3 separate regions of the Homo sapiens genome follow, and regions 1 and 2 are each linked to region 3. The links are contacts of gene promoters, found by promoter capture Hi-C in human tissues and cell types (Jung and others, 2019). All regions are on one chromosome and are shown on one strand. The core of a region is centred on a gene start or on the middle of the fragment in contact, and the rest is flanking DNA. Distances in the headings are between cores, read along the strand shown. Region 1 has its middle 44 kb from the start of GAL. Region 2 overlaps TESMIN (testis expressed metallothionein like protein). Region 3 holds the start of GAL (galanin and GMAP prepropeptide).

What was found. The method cuts DNA at HindIII sites, captures the fragments that hold promoters and counts their contacts. A contact is called where the count stands out against the background at its distance.
Region 1: a fragment that was not itself captured here is called in contact with the fragment with the promoter of GAL in region 3 in 4 of the 25 tissues and cell types used here (H1 embryonic stem cells, liver, mesendoderm cells and 1 more).
Region 2: a fragment that was not itself captured here is called in contact with the fragment with the promoter of GAL in region 3 in 1 of the 25 tissues and cell types used here (mesendoderm cells).

What each region holds. Positions count from the first base shown.
Region 1 is chr11:68,639,217-68,641,916 of GRCh38, reverse strand. No RefSeq gene overlaps it. Among named protein-coding and RNA genes, the nearest start is that of GAL, 44 kb to the left of the region's middle. The HindIII fragment of the contact is 5,691 bases long and covers 1-2,700 here.
Region 2 is chr11:68,723,951-68,726,650 of GRCh38, reverse strand. The region is part of intron 6 of TESMIN (testis expressed metallothionein like protein); the gene reads left to right. Among named protein-coding and RNA genes, the nearest start is that of TESMIN, 26 kb to the left of the region's middle. The HindIII fragment of the contact is 5,580 bases long and covers 1-2,700 here.
Region 3 is chr11:68,683,157-68,685,901 of GRCh38, reverse strand. It overlaps GAL (galanin and GMAP prepropeptide), which reads right to left and starts at 1,358. Exons shown (of 6, transcript NM_015973.5): 1 at 1,170-1,358; 2 at 898-978; 3 at 254-308. The coding sequence starts at 978. The region is part of intron 2 of LOC107984343 (a long non-coding RNA gene); the gene reads left to right. RefSeq lists enhancers at 612-1,287, 1,964-2,639. The HindIII fragment of the contact is 15,033 bases long and covers 1-2,745 here.

The sequences.
Region 1 (2,700 bases), core at 15-2,514, 44 kb after region 3:
CTGGGGGCTGCCCCTGACCACATGCCTCGCAGCTGCTGGGCAGAGCATCCTCTGTCTAAGGAGGTCTGATTCTACCCTGTGTCTGCCATTATCCGCCCTTGCACTGGCCGGATCCCCTTTTCCACACATGTGGGAAACCACCCTTCCAGGGCCCCTCTCTCTGTGTATTTAGAAGAGGGAAATTAATGGAAAAAATGACAGCCCCATAGCCAACTGCGTTCATCTGGGAACACAGTGGTCCCTCTTGTCCCCGCCTCTACTTTCTGTTCTAAATTGCCCTGGCGCTCAGCTGTCTCCTGTTGGCATCAGGTGCATCTGGTGGCTGGACCCAAGCCCTATGTTCCTGAAGACTGTGAGCCCCTGTGAGTCCCTGCTAACCATGCCCTTTTGGGGTCAGAGTTGCTATTCAGATCCATTTCCGGTCATAATCGGAAGAGGGGGTGCCAAGAAGCACCTGCCCACGTCGGGTGTCTGAGTCCCACATGTATTCCTCTCTGCCGCCTGCTCTCAGGTGACAGCAGCCCCCATGTCCCCCTGCTGCTCAGGGCCAGCCACCCCCACTAAGAGGGTGGCTCCTCTTACGGCTTGCTGGCTGGGCCAAAAGGAGCCTGCAGTACCCTGGTGGAAGCTACAGCTTGTAGTTCTGTCCTCTGGCAAGCAAACACCTCCTTTGGAACCAGAACCGCTAACCTTGCAGAGCCAAGACTGGGGAGATGGAAAACACAAACAGGGGTGACCAGGAGTGATGCTGAGTGGGCCGCCCTGCTCCCACCCCTCAGCTCCCAGACCTATGTGTGCTTTCTGCTGAGAACACAGTGCCATATGAAGGCCTCTGACTCAATGTCCCCATGCCATCCGGGATGACGGGGCCTGTAGTTACAGGGCATTGCTTCAGCTCTCCGTGTGGGAGGCCACTCCAACACCCAGCCAGTCCAGCAGCTTCCGAACAATGAGACGCAATGAGTAGATCCTAGGGACACAGACCCTTTCCCACATCTCCTTCACTGCAAAGTGGCTTCCCTGATCAGAAGTGATGTTGTGAGCCCTTCTACGCCGATGAACAGGACATTCCTTAAGCGCTTGGACAGTGATGCCAACTGAGGCCCTGGAGCCAGGAAAGACAAACTCCTACCTAGAAGAGATGTCTATTTTTGTGCAAACCACTGGCCTTTCCAGAATGAAAGAGGCCCAGTGGGTCCACTTGCTGTCAAGTGGCTGGTTGGTCTCCTGTGAACCTGGGCCACACTGGCAGTGGGATGCTGGTCTCCTGTTGCTGGCAGGTTGGACATTCAGATAAGAGAAGGAGCCAGATGGTTTTGGGAGGTTGCAGTCCACACTGTTGGCCTCATGCCTGCCCTCTGTCTCAGCTGTGGCCGCTCCGTCCATGTGCCTGTCTTTGTTGGGTTGGTGTAGCCACTAAGGCTGGCTCCCATCAGTGGGTTGAGTGATCTTGTCTGCCTGGTGGTTCAGTGCCTCTTCCATGGAAGATGCTTGGGCTGCAACAAAATGCAGCAGGACAACCCCCCAAAATAAAACACCTACAGCCCCAACCCAACAACTGATAGGCGATGTCTGGGAAGACTGTGACCCGTAGTACTCAGCCTATGAGGAAACGGGGGAGAGACCTGTGCACTAGGGGATAAATTGCTTGTTGAAACCGTGCTGGGTGTGCCTACTCATCAGACACCCGAGCTTACAAGACCATCATTAAGAGTCCCACTTCCGCTGTTCTCCGGGTCTCTTGAGTCCATCCTTTGGGTTTGGACAGGCGAGTTTGTTTCTCACACCTAGTCCCAGTCTTTGCTGTCTCATCCTCACAAGCAGCCCACCCCGAATTCTCTCTCTCAGGGTGTACTGTCTATTCGGCATCTAACTTTCAGAATATTCTTTTTCTTTTGCAATAAATTACTCTGTTACCTCTCCTCTGCTGTGTGTCTCTTGTTTAAATTATTTTAAACTAAGAAGATGAGAACCAAGGTCTCACAACAGCAACAATAGGAGACTCAAGATGCAGCAATTGAGACGGAGTCTTGCTCTGTCACCCAGGCTGGAGTGAAATGTCGGCTCACTGCAACCTCCATCTCCCAGGTTCAAGCGATTTTCCCGCCTCAGCCTCCTGAGAATCTGGGATTACAGGCACACACCACCATGCCCAGCTTTTTTTTTTTTTTTTTTTTTTTTTGTATTTTTAGTAGAGATGGGTTTTTTCCATGTTGGCCAGGCTGGTCTTGAACTCCTGGCCTCAGGTGATCCATCCACCTTGGCCTCCCAAAGTGGTGGGATTATAGGCATGAGCCACCATGCCTGGCCTAGCAATTGCCTTTTTATTCTATTTGTTAGAGACAGGGTCTTGCTCTGTTGCCCAGGCTGGAGTGCAGTTGTGTGATCACAGCTCAGTGCAGCCTGGAACCCCAGGGCTCAAGTGATCCAGCTTCAGCCCCGGGAGTAGCTGGGATGACAGGTGTGCATCACCACTTTCATGTGCGTCCATGTGAAGAGACCACCAAACAGGCTTTGTGTGAGCAATAAAGCTTTTAATCACCTGGGTGCAGGCGGGCTGAGTCCAAAAAGAGTCAGTGAAGGGAGATGGGGTGGGGCCGTTTTATAGGATTTGGGTAGGTAAAGGAAAATTACAGTCAAAGGGGGGTTGTTCTCTGGCGGGCAGGAGTGGGGGTCACAAGGTACTCAGTGGGGGAGGTT
Region 2 (2,700 bases), core at 4-2,503, 41 kb before region 3:
AGTCTCTTGTTGCTTACTCACACTTTTGATTTCTTATTTTAAATTTAAAAATATGAAATAATTATCTTCTCTGTAGCTCATAACTATAGTAAAGTCTCTGTCTCATTCTGTGTTTGTTTCATCTCTTGAATTTTTCTCCTTATGGCTTGGAACCTCACATATTTTGTGATTTTTTTAAACTGCGAATTATAATCACTGGGGCTTTCCCTGTGGGAGTTCTTTGAGGCTTGTTTTGAGAATGTGCTCTTCAGAGAAGGTTTGTTTGCTTCCACTTGGAGCTTGGTGGCACTTCCAACTTGGATGACTAACAATTTTTGGCTAATTTTTTTTTTATTAGGCTGCACAGTATGAATTCAGATTTCAACCTGAAGTGAGCCTCCTCCCCTCCCACCAGCCAGGATCACACACACATTTCCTTGCCATTTGTTTTCAGGGCATTTGTTCCCAGAGTAGATAGAGCCCTCCGCAGTTCTGGTCCATGTGTGGATCCTGCAGCAGACCTTCTACCCTGAGTGTGCCTTCGACTGGGGTTAATATACGTAAAGCACCTAGAGCACAGCCCAGCAGATCACACATGTCCTTGTAAGTGTTTGCCACAGTTAGGGTTGCCATAGTTCCCCCTTTCTCCTCCACGCAGCAGTTAAAACCAGCGCCTTTGGTTGCTGGGATCAGCAGATGCTTCAGAGGTCACTTCAGGCTTCAGTTTTAGCTTGGCCCTCTGAATTTTGCCCTCTGTTGGGTTTCCTTAATTTTTTACCAGCTCAAGTAGCCATCTAAAAGGTTTTAAATATTTAATTCAATGTTATTAAGTGTTTTATAGCAAGCAATATGTCAGGATGGCCAATGAATTAAGAATGAGTTTAGAATATATGTCATTGAGCTGGGCATGGTAGCTCACACCTGTAGTCCCAGCACTTTGGGAGGCTGAAGCAGGAGGATTGTTTGAACCGAGGAGTTCGAGACCAGCCTGGACAACATAGTGAGAACCCGTTTCCAACAACAACAACAACAAAAAACTGTCATTTTAGGTCTTTTCAACCACCAAGACTAAAATTTCATGATTCAATATGCCTGTGGGAAGTGAATCTGACAGAGGGTATCATGAGTATTTCCTTGAACAGTATCATCACCCTCTCAGCAAGCCACAGGGCAGGATGACCCAAAAAGTGTTGCAGTGTTGCCAGTGTGCCAGCATTGAGGCAGTCTGCACCTCCAGGACAGCGTCTTTAATGGAATGATGCTCACTGCAACCTAGATCAAGGTGGGATAAATGTGATGTTAGAATTTCTACTAAAAGTTTTACATTTCTGCTTTTGTCATTGAGCTTTAAATCACCTGGAATTGATTTTCGTGATTGGCATTAGGTAGGGATTCAATTTTATTTTTTTCCATACGGACAATTAATTGTCTAGCACCATGTATGGCAAAACACAGATATAGTCCACGATATCTGCAGTGCAGCCCCGTCAGCTCTCAGGGTTTGATTACACATGGGTCTGATTTGGGGTTCTCAATCCCGCTCCAGACATGAATTCTGCTTCTTATTTGTAATGATTTGTCTGTGGATTTCCTTCAACTTTCTATTTAAACAATGATCTTATCACAGATATTGGACCGTGATACCTTCCCCATCTTTGTACTCTTTTCCCTTTTCCTTGCCTTATTATACTGGCTAGAACCTCATAGTGATGAATGGAAGTTCTGGTCTGGGGCACTGTTGAATTCCTCCTAAATTCTAAATATTTCTAAAATTCCCTTGCCTTGCCCTAAATAAGATAGTTGCTGTAGGTTTTTGAGAGATGCCCTTATTAGGTAGAATACATACTCAGATGCTATAACAAAGACTCAAAACTACAACCATTTCAGGACTAATATGGTGGCTAATCAATGTTATTGTCTCAGATTTCTGTCTTAGTTGCCCTGACATCTTCAATGGAGGGCTTGCATTTTGTGGTCTAAGAAGGCTGCACCAGCCCCTACCCTTATGTTCATCTTCCAGACACTGGGGAAGAGAAAACAGGAGGGCAAGTGCACACTCCTTAACCTTTCATGGCAAGACCGGCATTGTCATAATCACTTCCACTGATAGCCCTTTGGCCACAGCCTAGTCATGTGGTCGGGCCAACTAAATAGGAAGCTGGGAAATGCACTCTTGAGGTGAGCCAACCATATGCTCCACTACAATTGCTGCCACTGTAGGATAAGGGGAAGTGGCTGTTGCAGGACTGACTGGCTTCTCTGCTACGTGCCCTTCTCAGGTTAAGGATGCTTCCTTCTATTCCTAGTTTCCTAAGGGATTTGCTATTATTATAATTATCGGAATTATAATAAAGGACTGGTGAATTTTATTGAGTGCCTTTTTATGTATTTGTTGAAATGATCAGATTGTTTTCCTCTTTTAATCTCATAATATATCTATGACAACAAACTTTCCAATGTTAATCTGCCTTTGCATTCCAGGGATTAAGCCCAATTTGATTATTATGTACTGTAAGATTTCGCTCTTTAGGATTTTTGAATCTTTGTTCACAAGTGAGATAGACCTGTAATTTTTCTTTCTCATATATTCTTTCATTTTGGTATCAATATTGTATTGCCTAATAAAATGCGTTAGTTAGGCTTCCCCATCCCCACCCCACTGGCTTCTTTTTCTCTAGCCTCTAAAAAAGTTTGGGTAAGGTAGGATTTATTTGTTCATTG
Region 3 (2,745 bases), core at 109-2,608:
GAAAGCCCAGGAGAACTTGAGCAAAGCCCAGGGTGGGAATCTCACCCCGGGACAGGGCGGCAGAGCCGGGGCAGGAGAAGCTTCTGGAAAGAACCGTACACAGATCAAGTGTGCAGAGCAATGGAGACGGGCAATGAGGTCAAGAGGGAGGCCAGAGGGTCTGCCCAGCCGCAGGCGGAGGGGCAGGAGCCAGGGTTCAAAGCGAGGGGCAGGTGGGGTCAGGAGTGGGGAGGCCATGCTGTCAGTCACTTACGTGGGCCCAGCAGGTAGCCCGCGCTGTTCAGGGTCCAGCCTCGTTTTTCCTTGGCCTTGAAGGGAGAAAAGGGGATCAGATGCCAGGGCTGTGCCTGGAGCCTATGCTGAATGGGTGCACCCAGGCTTTCCCGGCATGGCAGAGGACTTAGAACAATGCATGTGCTTTTGGATAGCTCGCGAAATTCCAGGTTTACCCCTAAGTCGGCTATATTTGACATGAAAATGGAACCACTTTATTTACGAAATACTTCACTTGAGGGCCTGAGCCCGCGCACTCTCAGCGCACTGCACCTGCTTTAGTGACGCTGAGGCCACGCCAGTGGCTCCTAGCCCTCCATTCTAACTAAGCCCTGCGGAACGGGCGAGCTTCTCGCTTTCCCGAGGCGCTGACCCGAAGCGCAGAGCTCTCCCGGCGGCCTGGTTATAGCCCGGGGCTGTTGATACACTCGGAGAAGCGCGCGGGGGGAATCCCAGGGAGCCCCGGACCCTTCCCGCGACGCCCGCAGCCAGGACAGCGCCCGCCTTTCCACTTTCCACCCCCATCCCCGCGGGCAGGGCGGAGGCTGCCTCCTCCAGGAAGCCCTCCACGCCCGGCCGGCTCTGATGTCCCCTTCGCTCGGAGGAGACGCGCCCCGCACTTACCGGCGACCAGAGCCCCGCAGAGGCAGAAAGGGCCGCGGCGAGGAGGAGGGAGGCGAGCAGGAGGGCGCTGCCTCGGGCCATCTGGAAGGGAAGGACAGGGCGGGCGGGTCGGAACCCGGAGTGGGCTGCGCCCCGAGGCAAGGAGTGCCGGGGCTGCGGGGAGGAGCAGAGGCGGCGGCCGGGCCAGGGCCCTGGCAGAACCGTCCCTGGGCAGAGGAAAGCCGAAGGGGAGGCCTCCCGGGGGCGCAGGGTCGGCCCGGCGCCAGTAGTACCTTGAGCTGCGGCTGCGCCCGGGTTCGGAGCGTCGGGGTCCGGGTGCGGTGGCGGGTCTGGGCGGCAGGTCCGGGCGTCGGGCCGGGTCGGGTGGGCTCTGGCGGCCTGGGGCGCTCACCGCATGGCGCGGCCGGCAGCAGGGGCAGAAGGCGCGGGCCGGGTCCCTCCACGTGTCCGCCGCCCGGTGTGGCCGCCGCCACCGCCGCCGCTGCTATATATGCGGCGCACCCGGGAGCCGCCCGGAGTCGCGTCACCGGCTCAGCGCCCGCCTCCTGCACCCTCGCCGAGCCCCGAGGGCGACGGGAGTGACCCGAGCTCGGGTCCTCTGGGCCATCATAGGCGGGTGCGGCGGAGAGCCCCCCCTCATCCCGCGGGAGAGACTCCCCCAAATCTGCAGAGAGAACCCCAAACCCTGTGGGAGAGACCCTAATCCCGAAAGACAGAGCCCAATCGCCCCGCGGGAGAGCCCCCAGACCCGTGGCCCAAGTCATCGCTGTGGCGTCAACCCCACTGCTCCCCCCGGGGTCCCAGCCCCAGAGCAAGCCTGACCCCCCACAACGTCCCACGCCTGCGGTCTCCCTGCAGCTTCTCCTCCCAGCCCCTACCGCTGCAAAAGCCAGCTGAGCTCCGCAGCACTGGAGACCCCAGAGGGTGACGGGCAGGGACGACTCCTCAGTCCGAGCCAGCCCCAGCTGGGAGGTCATGGGGTACCCGGGGAATGGCGGGCAACACTTGGCCCTGCGCCCTGGCCGGCTTGTGCTGGGGCTGGAGCGAAGGTTCAGGCCTCGGGAGCCGTCGATGGCGGGGAGGGCAGGCGTTCCCGGCTCCCTGTGCCCAGCGACCTCCCTCCTGTTTCACTAAAGGGGGGCTGTGGATCTCAGGGTCTGCTTGGCCATCCCATTGTGGGAGCTGCGGGACCGTCGAGCATCCACAGGCACCAGCTCAGAAGCTCGGCCTCTCAGTGCCTCCCCTGGCTGCCTGGTCCAGTTGTAAGAGGGAGCTTTAAGCAGGTCCAGCCATTGGGCAACTGGTTAGGTCCAGAGGGAGAGCAGCCCAGACTCCCAGAGGCCGCCAAGGGGTGGGCGGTGGGCAGAGCAGCAGCAAGAGGCTGTCCTTGTGCCCAAGGCAAAGACATCCCACAGGAACAAGGCCCTCCTTGGCTCCTCCACAAACCCTTCCTGAGCTGGGGCCAAGTCCCGAAACAACCCAGGAGAGAACCCAAGCCTAGGCTGTTCCTTCACCCCATTCCCAGGCATCAGGGGAGCACAGGATCCCAGGCATCACACTTGTACAGTGTGGCACCTCCGGGCTTCCGAAGAGCACGGGGTCATCTGCTGAAAACTCGCCTGACCTCCCCTCCCACTGGCCAGACACCACCCAAGTCCTCAACAGCAGCAGCTGGGTTAGGATCTCCCCACCCACTGGGCTCAATATCAGATGGGTTGATGTCACATCTGTGGGTTGATGTCCACAGGGCACAGGACGAATGATGATCATGACAGTGTCATCTTACCTGTCCTCTACACTTTAGTCTTGGGAACCTTTGCACAGACAGCTACAGGCTGCCCCCAGGAG